Regions from separate parts of the Homo sapiens genome. Here all the other regions are linked to region 3. The links are contacts of gene promoters, found by promoter capture Hi-C in blood cells and fetal thymus (Javierre and others, 2016). All regions are on one chromosome and are shown on one strand. Each heading gives the region's core, a stretch centred on a gene start or on the middle of the fragment in contact. The rest is flanking DNA. Distances are from core to core; before and after follow the strand shown. Region 1 overlaps PAX7 (paired box 7). Region 2 overlaps TMCO4 (transmembrane and coiled-coil domains 4). Region 3 holds the start of UBR4 (ubiquitin protein ligase E3 component n-recognin 4). Region 4 holds the start of LOC105376823 (a long non-coding RNA gene).

Evidence for each region. The method cuts DNA at HindIII sites, captures the fragments that hold promoters and counts their contacts. A CHiCAGO score of 5 or more calls a contact.
Region 1: a fragment that was not itself captured here is called in contact with the fragment with the promoter of UBR4 in region 3 in 1 of 17 cell types (fetal thymus); the score reaches 5.7 in fetal thymus.
Region 2: a contact is called between a fragment that was not itself captured here and the fragment with the promoter of UBR4 in region 3, in 1 of 17 cell types (total CD4 T cells). The highest score is 5.1, in total CD4 T cells.
Region 4: a contact is called between a fragment that was not itself captured here and the fragment with the promoter of UBR4 in region 3, in 2 of 17 cell types (total CD8 T cells and total B cells). The highest score is 6.1, in total CD8 T cells.

Annotation. Positions count from the first base shown.
Region 1 is chr1:18,641,135-18,644,078 of GRCh38, forward strand. The region is part of intron 4 of PAX7 (paired box 7); the gene reads left to right. Among named protein-coding and RNA genes, the nearest start is that of PAX7, 12 kb to the left of the region's middle. RefSeq lists an enhancer at 1-338. The HindIII fragment of the contact is 6,318 bases long and covers 1-2,944 here.
Region 2 is chr1:19,761,142-19,764,358 of GRCh38, forward strand. The region is part of intron 6 of TMCO4 (transmembrane and coiled-coil domains 4); the gene reads right to left. Among named protein-coding and RNA genes, the nearest start is that of TMCO4, 37 kb to the right of the region's middle. The HindIII fragment of the contact is 3,003 bases long and covers 1-2,853 here.
Region 3 is chr1:19,208,516-19,211,775 of GRCh38, forward strand. UBR4 (ubiquitin protein ligase E3 component n-recognin 4) reads right to left here and starts at 1,751. Exons shown (of 106, transcript NM_020765.3): 1 at 1,558-1,751. The coding sequence starts at 1,733. EMC1-AS1 (EMC1 antisense RNA 1) reads left to right here and starts at 1,871. Exons shown (of 2, transcript NR_135114.1): 1 at 1,871-2,044. RefSeq lists silencers at 1,421-1,740, 2,766-2,835 and enhancers at 1,791-1,840, 2,091-2,140. The HindIII fragment of the contact is 5,774 bases long and covers 1-2,416 here.
Region 4 is chr1:19,887,577-19,890,665 of GRCh38, forward strand. OTUD3 (OTU deubiquitinase 3) reads left to right here. Exons shown (of 8, transcript NM_015207.2): 2 at 2,809-2,957. LOC105376823 (a long non-coding RNA gene) reads right to left here and starts at 1,588. Exons shown (of 3, transcript XR_947028.3): 1 at 1,548-1,588. The HindIII fragment of the contact is 151 bases long and covers 1,512-1,662 here.

The DNA.
Region 1 (2,944 bases), core at 268-2,767, 570 kb before region 3:
GCTAGATAAACTCGTGCCTAAATTGAGTGTGACGAGCAAGGAGAGAAGAGACAGAAGGAGATAAGGTTGGAGGGGGATGAATGAGCATAATCTAATAGAAGACATTTAGAAAACAAACTTTAAACAAGGGAGAACAGGCGAGCGGAGGGCAATTATCCGCCCCAGAGAGCGGGGGAAGCCGTCGGAGGTCTGGGAAGGGGTGGAAGGGAGGGGACTGGGAGCTGCGGAAGAGCTGAGTGTTGGGGGGTGCCTTTGGGACTCCGTGGGGAGCCAAGAGGGGCTCCCCAGGGCGCGCAAGAAAAGAGGCTCGGTTCCCGGATTGAGTGAGGTTCCCGTGCTCAGCCGGTCTTGGAACGCAGGCACGTCTGAACCGGGTGGGGTCCCCCGCTGCGAGGGCGTGCGGGTTTTGTGTTCCCCTCGGGGCACGCACCGCCACACTTGGGCTGTTTCAAGGCGTTTGTACCTAAAAGACTAGTGTGCACGGCGCAGCGGTTAAAGGAATTAGATATTTACCAGTTTGAAATAAGCCTGGCTAAGAAGAAGAGAGAAGAGAGACATTGAAAAGACGAGGCTGGGGGAAGACTTCAAACGAATTCATCATTTGGAATGGTGGAGGGGAGATTTACCAGACAGTATTGGGAAGTTATTTAGATATTAATAACACATTTTCCTGAGGCGCGACCACAGCAGCCATCTGCGCTGCTCTCGGAGCTATTTGGCTGGGTAAAATATGGGCGTCTCAAATGTTGGGAAGAGATAACGCAATCAGGCTAACCCTGGTCCTGAGACTGCATCGCAGCGTTAAACCCGGATTAACCTCCCCCCCCCCAACTCCCGCGGCCCCCTCCCCTTTCACAGCTTTCCAAATTTTCAGTGGAATTTACATGGAAGGATTTAAAAGCACATATAACAGTAGCCTTAAAGCAGTAAGGTGATTATTTGGGCTTTTTTTTTTAAGAATGTCTTTCTGAAAATGATAGTTGTCACACATTACATTATATATAAATAATATTATATAAAACATATTTTTATATAGGAAAAGAGGGCTGAGCAAATGAGATTTCATTCCAGGTTACCTCTTTGGAGTTTCTATTTGCCATCATTCTATCACCATCAACAAAGTTGATGAGGCTTCATTCTGTACTGTGAGGCAAGAGCACCTAAGGATATAAACATGTAATGTACAAGGTCCTGGCCGTGGCCCTGGAAGCTCATAGTCTAAGACTAGACAGAACTCACACCCCTGAAAAGACAATGCCTGGTTGAGGGAAGGGTTCCTGCACAGAGGAGAGACCCCCAAAGAAAGGTTCTCTAGAGGCTCTGGGGCCTTGAAGGCCATGACTAAGGGGGGAGGACACATTCCAGAAATTCCAGAAAAATAGCTCTTCTCTCCCTCCCATTGCAGACTAAAGGGGTAATTAGCAAACAGGATGAGGGTTAGAGGCGCTGGGAAGATTAGGATGCCCCCCTCAGTTTTTGCTGTCCGGGGCCTTCCCTCTTCTTTTCCCCTTCCCCCAACTCTGGCTGAAAGAGGAAAAGGTGGAAATGGGGTCAGCGCTTTCTGACCTGCTCTGGAGCGATTGGCCCCGGCTGGGGTGGAGCAGGGGGAGGGAGGGAGGGAACTCGCCTTCCCAAATCGAATCAAGGCAGAACGGTGACCTAAGGGGGAAACTTCGCCATTAGTAGATAGATGTCTCCAAAACTTCAAACGAAGTGGGGTGGGGGAGAGGTGAGGCGGGGAAGGAGTCCAGTGAGAGCGCAGGGGGAACTACCAGCATGGGAAGGGGAGGGGCCTGGAGGAGGAAGAGACGGGGTCGAGGGCAAAGGGGAGGCGGGGGCCAAAGGAAAGGGTGTGGGGAGGGGATGCGAAGGGAGGGGGTCGGCTGCACTTGGAACTTCAACCTCCTGGGAGAGGAAAAGCGTCTGCGGGTCGCTACAGCCTCGGGAGGGGTGAAGGGAAGTTGTGTGCGCCCCAAGTCCAGCTCAAAAGAGGCCCCGAGGGCATTCTAGGGCGCCTTGGGCACGCGTGCCAGGCCCCCGGTTTGGCAGCCGAGCTGAGCGAGGGTGGATTGCGAGGGGCACTGGGGCCGCCGCGGAGCTCTGCGTGTCGGCTGCCAGTGAATTGGCCGATTTCCCCAGTCTGAGGGTCAGCGAACGGACCTTTCCATGGCTTGGTCGCCCTGGTCCTGGAGGTGCGCTGGGCCCGAGCTCCGGTGGAGACCAAGGGAGGGGTGGGGAGAGGCAGCGGAGACAGAGAGCCACAGAGGAGGAGAGAGCTAGAAAATTCAGAGTGAGAAAGTCTGAGCGCAGCAGAAGAGAATCTTGCGCACAGTTTGAGGACGCTGGAAAATGCGGAGGCGCCGAGGGAGGCGCCGAGCAGCAGGAAGAAAGACAAAGAGATGCAGAATCACCGAGAGACTGGCCCTGGGACAGGCGGATCAGGAGAGCCAGCGGGACCTAGAGACAGCCCGCGGGAGAGCACGGGCCGAGAGGGCGAGTGCTCAAAGCCGGGCAGCGGCTAGGGGAAGATAGGAGGCGGGCGAGCCGCGGCCGCCCTTTTGATCCTTCGTGGCTTCGCCTTATCAGAAGCGCTTTCGGTGACATCCGCACAAAGGCAGTTCATCATATTACAGCACGTCCCGGCGGCTCGCTGCGATCCTGCCGCTTAATTAGAGGCGAGCGAGCTGGGCCGGCAGGGCGGGAGGGAGGCCGACCCCGAGGCGGGAGGCCGGGTTCTGCGCTCCAACCCGGGGCGCTGGGCAGGGGCCAGCCCGCGTGCCTGGCGGTGTTGGGACGTGGAGAGAGGGAGAGGCCGGGAACTGCATTCAGAGCGTTGCTAAATTAACAGGCCGGCCCGGGCTTCACTGCCCGGAGAGTGAAGCTCGCCGCCTTCCAATTTAGCCGCCGCCCCTTCTAAGTTCTTGGGAAGGGATGGCGCTCCGGC
Region 2 (3,217 bases), core at 102-2,601, 550 kb after region 3:
GCCAGTGGCCAGGTTCACCTGGACAGCGAGTAGTAAAGTGGCAGCCTGGGTGCAGATGCTGTGCACCTGACCGCCACCCATTCCCCGCACCATGAAGTGGGAAGGAGGGCCACGAGCTAGCAGAACACTGTCTTCCAGCCACACACCTCTCCCCGAAGCCCGCCCATGCTTCCAGCCTGCACCCCTTCCTCACGGCCTCCTTCTAAATCAGCCCATGATCAATGGGTGCTGCAACATCCCCCCATTGCTCCTGATAGATGTGCAGATTCCAGTCCAGTGCCCAGGCCCAGACTTTTGGATCCTGCCGGAAGGACCAAAGGAGCTGGTATCCAGAGGTCCTTTCCAGCTCAGAGATCTGAGGGTCAGCCTCAGGGTACCTGTTCCTCCTCACAAGGAGAGACCTTTAAAGCCCAAGGTCAAATGAACTTGAAACAGCCCAACAGCAACAGGGTCATGTGGAGACTTGACAGTCACAGCGGGACAGTGGTTCTTAGAGTTTAGGGAACATCAAGGTCCCAGAGAGCTTGTGGAATTACAGCTTCCTCGGTCCCACATGCAGGAGATCTGGGGTAGGGCTTAGGAATCTGTACTTTTAACAACACTCCCCACTCCCAGTGATTCTGAAACAGATGATTCCTACCCCAGGAAACAGAGCAGTGGGCTCCCCTCTTGCAAATGAGCTCCTCCCAGTCTGAGATAGTCTGGATGTGCTCATGCCTGGAGGCAGAGCGTGATGCTCCTCCTGCCACCTCTGCAGGGAAGGGAACCCGGCATCCCTGGCCTGCTCCTAAGCAGCAGGCATCATGGCAGGAGCTTGCATTTGTGATTGCTGATCCTCCCAATGGTCCTAGGAGGTTGTCACTATGATGCCGCATTTTGCAAATGAAGAAAGAACAGGTGCAGAGTGGATAAGAAACTTTCTCAAAGCCACACAGGTCAGAGAGTGCTGGAGCTTGGATTATAATCCAAATTATGTGATGCCAACATTTCTGCTCATTCCACTATGAGTGCCTTTTAAAGGCAAATGCCTTACTCTTGAGTGAGTTTGGTGTCCTAGGACAATCTCGTTTGGCCAGCTGTGAATCCTATATTTTATGCACATGGGGTATACATACAATCTCAGGGGCAGCCCTAGATCATGGGCCACAGGCACACCTAAAAGTTACGTATCACGGGATAACAGTTCTTTGGAAAGATGGGGGATTGGGGAGGGTGACCGAGGGATCTCGGCTCTGCCACCAGAGGGCAGAAGTGTGCCAGACACCCAGAACTGCGGGATTAGCCCTGGTGCCCACCCCAGACACACAACCACATACTGTGGGAGCCCCTGGAGCCAACTGGTCCCCCTGCTTCAACAAGAGCAAGGGGCATGTCCAGAGCCAGGCTGTGTGTTCATGATGGGACTCCTTCGCCCACCAGCATTTCTCAATACAGAAGCAGCTGCGTTTCGTACTTCATTATCGAACACTCTTATGCATCAAAGAATAGCAGCACCCTGGGAACTTGGCCCTAAATGCCAGTTGCACCCACACAGGTTGTGATAACAATCCTGACTCTCCCCACATTTCCAAATCCCCCAAATCAGGAGCGGGGGGCAGGACAGCCTCCTGTTGTAAGGCACTGAAACAGCCTGTTCCCAGTAATGGCTCCATCTCTGAGCATGGAGGTAGGGATGGTGGGTCGGGGCTGACCTCGTACCTGCTGGGAGAGCCCACACCTTTGGGAAGAGATCATGGTCAATCCCCGCCCTTTGGGGGCTGCCCTCCAGACCAAAGCGAAGGAACCCAGAGGCAGAAACTTCAGCCTTTGTCAAACAGACCTGGGTTTAAATCTTGATCTAAGTTCCTACTAGCTGAATGGGTTCAGTAAGTCTCTTAACCTCTCTGAGCCTCAGTTTCTTCATCTGCAAAAGGGGAATAAGAATATCTTTTTCTTTTTTTCTTTTTTTTTTTGAGATGGAGTTTCACTCTGTCACCCAGGCTGGAGTGCAGTGGCACGATCTTGGCTCACTGTAATCTCCGTCTCCAGGGTTCAAGCGATTCTTGTTCCTCAGCCTCCCGGGTAGCTGGGATCACAGGTACCCACCACCATGCCTGGTAACTTTTTGTATTTTTAGTACTGATGGGGTTTCACCATGTTGCCCAGGCTGGTCTCGAACTCCTGACCTCAAGTGATCTGCCTGCCTCGGCCTCCCAAGTGCTGGGATTGTTACAGGCGTGAGCCACCACGCCGGGCCAAGAATATCTTTTTGATCTGGCTTTTGTTGAGGGACAATAAGAGGATGGATGTGGTGAGCTTGGCTGGCACCTGGGACACAGTAAGTGCCCGATACAGGGTGGCTGATATTACTTCATGGGAAATTGTCATGTTTCCTCCTTCCTGTACCTGTTAAGAAGCCACTCTCTGAGCCAGGGTGCCAGGGTGAGGCTGTGGGCTGCCTGCTGCTGTGCCAGGGCAGGGGCCCTTTGTCTCTCTTCTCCCTGGGTCTGAGGACACACCTCACAGGTCACATTCATATAACTGCTAACCTCACCCACCACCCTACTATCCCTTGATTCACCAACTTTTCTAATTACATACTTTTTCTAGAATATTTATTACGTAGCCCCATTTTTACCCTAAATGAATTATTTCCCATATAAAGAAGAAACTACACAGTATTCCAGTACCATACACCCTGTCCATTGCTGAGCACTGGGTTGAAGCCCCGTTGTGTGCCCAGGGTCCCGATTTTGAGAGGCTGAGCCTGGCTGCAGAGCCCTCACAGGGCAGTCTAACTCAGGACATCTTGGGGATGATTCTTGCCTTTTGTCCTCATGGCTTAGGACGATTAAGGGCATTAAGGCAGTGACAAGCTTACTTCAAGACCAGTGGTCTTGGAGCAGAGGGGAGAGAGGAGGGGTTGCTTCTGAGACCCTCCCATCTCCACCTTCTTGGATGTAGGATCAGTAAGAGAAGCAGCTCCTTTGGTTCCTGCCGCATGGGCACCCGCCCTTCATTCAGGCCTCATCCAACCCTCTTAAAGTCAGCTTCAGGGGTGAAGTCTCCACTTATCTCCATGTGGGAGGTGGAACAGCAGGTAAGAGGTGGACTCAGGAGCCCCGGGGCCTGTCTGGAATCCTAACTTCTCACTTTCCAGCTTGGGCAGGCATTTCATTCTCTGCGCTGCAGTTTCCTCTGCTGTAAAATGGGAACAGTAACAGCATCTACCTCCAAG
Region 3 (3,260 bases), core at 501-3,000:
TACCAAAGACCCATCAGTTTGGACTTATTTTCTAAGCCATAAAGAGAGATCTTATTAATGTCTACAAATACAACTCTTGATTATTTGTACAAACAGAGGGTATGGCAAAGACCACTACCACATACATGGCAAAATTCAAACCTAGTGATGTATTTGGTTGGAGGGTGTTCCTTAAGTATTACAGCTTTAAAGGTGGCCCCAGAATACAGGATTTATGGAAGGGTGTCAACAAATTATTAATATTTTATAACCTATCCAGCTCATGTCCAGAAAAACATAAAAGCAAATGCTCTAAAAAGACTGGAACGTTACTGATTCTACGTAACATGAGTATGAGTCAGGAAAAATACTGCCAATCCAAATGTTTAAAACAAAAAGCAGCCACGTAATTTGAAAGTAGTATATTTGAAACCTGTTTACATCTTCAGAACATTCCTGGCCTGATGATTAGATAGCAAAATCCGTCTGTAAAGCTGACTGTGAAGTTACCAAACTCAACCATTATTTTATTATAATTTGTTAAAAACTCTGCATCCAAAGGATTACAAGTCTACAACAAGAAAAAGCACAAAAACAATTTGTCAAACCGTGGGCCTCCTTTGAGTAACAAATAGCAATTTTTAACCTCTGGATAGCAGCTAGATATACCCTTGTCATCGTGAAGCTAAAATGACCCAGTTAACAATTGCAGGGAGTTGCTGAAATGAGGTATGGCTAGAAAAATGAAAGTCAGTCTGGCTTTAAAAGCAAAAGTCTACCATTAAACTAATGAAAGACTGCTCTGAGCACAGTATGTCAGGAAAAGGCAGGCACTCTGAGATCACCATCTTTGTACCTACATAACTGTCACTAGCTAAGAATCGCTGTGCAAAAAGACAAAAACACACAAAAGGAAACCAACAGATAGTACCGTTTGTAAAAGAATGTGATGATATTTTAATGCGAGGGGGATGGGAGGCAGCAAGAGAACACACACACCACACATCCTCTGGGAAAATGATCTCTCAGACACACACTGAAATGTTTTTAATCAAAGACCGATACAGTAGGAATGCACAAGGAGTGCAACGTAAAAAGAGGTCATCAATGTAGCTAGTGGCTTCAGTCACAGAAATAGCACGTGCCCCCACTGATTACAGCACCGCGGGGAGACCGTTATTAAATTATACCGTACGGCTCCGCTCCGGCCCAGGCTAGGAGGATGAGTGCGGGCGAGAAATGCAAACTCATCTGTGACTTGACCCAAGGGGCAGCCCCGTGAACATTCCCTTAAGAGGGCGAATGCATCTCACTCTCAACCATGTCCGGCCACGCCCTCCCGCAGGGAGGCCGCTAAAGTTTTGCTCGAGAGGGGAAACTGAGGTAGAGGTGATTTACATGCGTTGGCGGAGGGAAACCCAGGCAAGCCAGTCTCCCCGGGCCCGGGACCCCGAAGCCGTGGCTGTGGCGGGGATCCTCAAGGGGGCAGGGGGCGGCCCGGAAAGCGGGTCCAGACGATCCGGCTCGAAATCCCCTCCCCCCACAACAGCGTCGCCCGCCAGAGCCGCCGCCCGGTACCTCTCGATGACTGAGGCCACCAGCTGCGGCAACTCCTTCATCTCGAAGGCGGAGTAGGACGCGGACAGCAGGGGCCGCACAGCCACCTCCCAGCCCGGGGTCGTGTCCGCCCCCGTTGCCGGGGTCCCCGGCGCCGGAGCCGCTGCCGCCGCCTCTTCGCCGCCGCTCGTCGCCATCTTCCGTCGTACTACTGCGGCTCCCTCCGGGGGCTTGCCACCGGCCCAGCGCCGCCTCCCAGGAGGGGGCGGAAGTGACGCAATCTGTCGCGTCAGACTGCGCGCCGCCGTCATGGGTCAAAAACGCGACGCGCGGAGCGGCCTTTGCTCTCACCGGGGTCGAGCCGCGGCGAGGGAACGGATCGGAGACGCTGCGCCTGCTCAGAAGGTAGCGCAGCGGGGAAAGGCGGGAGAGCGTTAACTTCTGAGCCTGCGCGGTGGGAGTTGCTCAAGCAGGTGGTAGCGACTTGGCTTCCGGGCAGCGGGTAAAGGTGAGTCTGGGGCATGGGTTCAGTGGGCAAGTCTAGGGCAGCAGAGTTGACTACGCCTCGGCGTATAGAATGGCCCTGGCCTGGGACAGCTAAGGACGACAAGAGGAGGCCGAAGCCTAAAACGCTTTCACCTGCTTCTTCCCCTGCCTAGATCCCCCCAATAGTAATACTAAAGAGCGCCATAGTTTACAAAGATTTCTCCCTCTCACAACACCTTTTAATCACTGATCCGTATTCCCTTAGCACTCAAATCTCTTCTGTTTGGATTGCCCTCATTAACAATCTGACCAGCTCGTACAATGCATCCCTCTTTGCAATTTGCCACGTATGCTTACGTGTTCCCCTTTTTTCTACTGGCAAGGAAAGAATGTAAGCTTTTATTCACAGGAGATGTCTGAGACTTTTGCCGGTAAAATGATCTGGCTACAAGGTCTAAGAGGGAAAAGCAGTTTGCTCGAGGAAAGGTATTCGTGCATTAAGGACAGTCCTGTGAGTGAGATATTGGTGGACGGCTTCAAGCTCTAGCCTGTGGCCTACAGCTGGCCTAAATAAGACTGGGAAGGAACTGTGAAGACGGTTTCAAATTCCTAAAGCCCTGAAATTCTCCCCCTAAGTTTAGGAAGAGCTTTTGTTCTTGGTGTGTAACACTGATAAATGAATTGGTACCTAGTGATTAATCTGCACTTTTATTAAGATATGACCTACTTTACCTTTTTTGAGACAGGATCTTGCTCTGTCGCCCAATAGCCCAGGCTGGAGTGCAGTGGCAGAGTTGCAGCTGGCTGCAGCCTCCACCTCCCTGGCTCAAGTGATCTTCCAGCCTCAGCCTCCCCAGTAGCTGAGACTATACAGGTGCAGGCCACCACTCTTAATTTTTTTTGTTTGTTTTTAAGAGACAGGTCTCCCTACGTAGCCCAAGCTGTTTTCGAAGTCCTAGGTTCCTCCCACCTTGGACTCCCAAAGTGCTGGGATTACAGGCTTGACCCACTGCGCCCAGCCTGCATCTTTACATTCGAAATAAAATTCAGTCAAGTCAAAGCCGGTCTTGGAGGAAAATGTGGCTTTGATGACAGCAGTAGGGATTTTCCTTCAGTGCCTACTTACCAGAGGATAATAATAACAGCAAGTTTCTTAAACATAAAAACATCAGAAATGAAAAAGAACTTTCCATAACACTATAAATATTGCAGTATTTCAAGATACTGAACCAGAGCCC
Region 4 (3,089 bases), core at 337-2,836, 680 kb after region 3:
TAGTCTACCTCCGTAGAGCTAAGGTGAAATTACCTTTTATTTGCCAAAATCTATGTCTCTGTGGCTTCCAGGTTTTCGTTTTATTATACAGGTATAATTTTAATTTCACATGACAGTTGGAGGTATTGATCACGTCCCCCTGAGCCTTCTTTAGGCCAAACATCACTAGTAGTTCTTCATATTGTATTAAAGCCACATCATTTATCTGAATACGTCTCTCTTAAAATACAGTAACTAGAATGGTACCCAGTACCCTATCTGGTCTGACCCCAAATAATAAAACCTTTTCCTTTTTCTGCACATTTACTATTATTACTGCAGTCTAGAGAGCACGTTAGGTTTTTTGGTGCGTGTGTTGCAATATTGTCTAATAGTAAATTATTGCGCACTCAAAACATTTGCGTGCTCTTTATGTAATTGGTTGTTTTTGTGAACTCAAATGCGAGACCTGCCATATATCCCTATAACACAGTGGTTCTCAAGCAGGGATGATTTTGCCCTCCAGGGGACATTTGGCAATGTCTAGAGACATCTTTGGTTGTCACAACTGATGGGGAGGGAGGTAGTGATGTGCTACTGACAGCTAATGGCAGAGGCCAAGTATTCTCCTAAACTTCCTACAGTGCACAGGACAGCCTCCCACAACAAAAAAATGATCCTGGAATGTCAATAATGTGGAGATTGAGAAGCCCTGCTATAGGTAATGGTGAGAGTGTGAACTCAGGAAGTGGCCCAGATCTCCTAGAGGCCCTTTGGGCAGCGGTGCTTTGTTCTCATGAGTTTCTTGAGTGCTCTTATTGGGCTCACCTAAGGAAACCCAGGTCACTGGAGTGTTTGTTCATTACCTTGTAATCCTGTCAGAAAAGGAAGTGATTTGTCTATTTTGGCTTGTTTTGGGTGAGCTCAAAGAAAGTTTGGTAAGTAATGAAAAGCATATTAAAAAATGTAACAATTAAAACTCTTAAATATTATTTTTAATTCTGCTGCCTAGGGGTAACTATGGCTATCATTTTGGTGTTGACATTCGAGCGAGAGCCACGTTATTTGGACTTGGATCCTGGGCCTACCACTTACTAGTTTTGTGACCTTGGGCAGGTTTCCCCTGAGGGATGGTAATAGGACCTATCTCAGAGTTGTGAGACACAACATGTTTAATACATATAAAGTGTTTAGGACAGTCCCTGGCACATTGTAAGAACTATTTAAGTGGTTGTTTCTGTGTGTTTTCTTGGCATACGTTTGTGTGTGTTTCTGTGTCTGTGTATGTGTATAGTGTACAGATGAACTTGGTTGAGTTCATGTGGCATATACAGTTCTACACCTACTTTTTTGGAGAACATTTGCTCATGTTATTAAAAGTTCCTAGCAAACATGTAACTGTAGAATACCATGAATTTTGGTACATTAAATGTAAAATAACTACATAAATTTGTGATAAATCACATCTCTTAAACTAAATTCAAGAATAGGCTAGTGGTGGCAGATGCTGATTAAGAAAAGTTTGAGGGAAAAGCTTGACATTTAAATTGTTTTATCGATTAACTTACTTTTCTCCATGGTTGAAAAAAGACTGCCATTGTCAGATTTTAGCAAGACACCTCAGTCTAGCCTACAGAACTCTATATTCCACTCCTTCTAGAATCTTGTCTTAGATTGTTGGAAAGCTTCTTGGTTTTTAATTTATAGAAGCTGTCTTAATTCTCCCCTCCCCTGCAAAAAAAAAAAAAGTATATATTCTTATACATTAGAAGAGATTCCAGCCTTTCTATAGCTTTCTGTTGAAAATTCACTTTTCTGAGTTGAAAAACAAAACCCCCTTTTTTCCTACACATTTAGACATGAAATCTTTCTGAAAGTGATGAGTTTATACTTTGGAATTACAGTATCATAGTTTTTCATTTGGAAGAGTAAACAGTTGGGTGTAAAACTGGACAACTGTTTGGCTTCAGAATTGTTTATTTCTGTAGTTTTAAGGATACCAGATTGTGTTTGTCTTGTTTGAGTCTCTGTGTATCTAAGCCTCTGTGTTTGTGATAGTTCGGAATTTAGAAGCCTTTGAGGGGTTTGAAAGTAAAGATAACTCTTACAGTTTATTACCAGTATTTTAATTTTAGAGAAACAAAATGTGGTGTTTAAAGTTTTCATTTGGCAGGAATAACAATGGCATTGTTGCTCCCTGGGTGCTAAGTGAGGAGGCAAGGAGGAAGTGTCTTTCCATAGTACAACTGTTTGTTGTCCAAGTGCTTTCCTTCTCATGACTTTCTCCACTATGTTCTTAGGACTCAAACAGAGTATTGTTCAGTTGTTAGTATTGGCAGCTTGACAAATTGCTATTTTTTGGGTACTATTTGTTAAATGAATGATTACTTAGCTGGGTAGCTGTAGTGGAACTTGTTTTAGAAAAGAGGCTGTAGATAGGACATGATTTTGGAAGAGGATCTGTAAATCATAGCCCTTAGGCATGGAATGGCCTATAAGGTCTGGACCTTGTAGTAAGGTGGTTAGTGTATCACCGGCTCCACTTGTTGAAGCAGCTGAGGCCCAGGGAAGTTTGATGACTCTCCTGAGTCAGCCAGCTGGTACATGGGGAATAGAATCCTTGTTTGCTGCCTCTCAAGAAGGTAATATGGTTGAATATGCCCTCATGCTGTCCCCCGTGGTCTTGGAAGAATCCTGGACTATTAGAGTTGAGTCTTTACCTCTGTGTGCACAAAATATTTCCATGGATGATCTGGCATGAAGCATCATTGTTTTAGACGAACTAAGTTCATTTTTGAAAGGTCTTGACTCGTGTTGTTGTTTTGACAGCAATTGCTTGTTCAGAGCTCTTGGTGATCAATTGGAGGGACACTCACGAAATCATCTCAAGCACAGACAGGAGACAGTGGACTACATGATAAAGCAGCGGGAAGATTTTGAACCCTTTGTAGAAGATGACATTCCTTTTGAGAAGCATGGTAGGTTCACTGTGGGACATTGTGTCCTTCAGGAGTAATGCATTGGGTAATTAAGTCCACTGGCATCCTCCCCCCTCCCAGCCAAGGGTTTGGTTATATAAATCACGACATTCATTTATTCAAGAAATATTT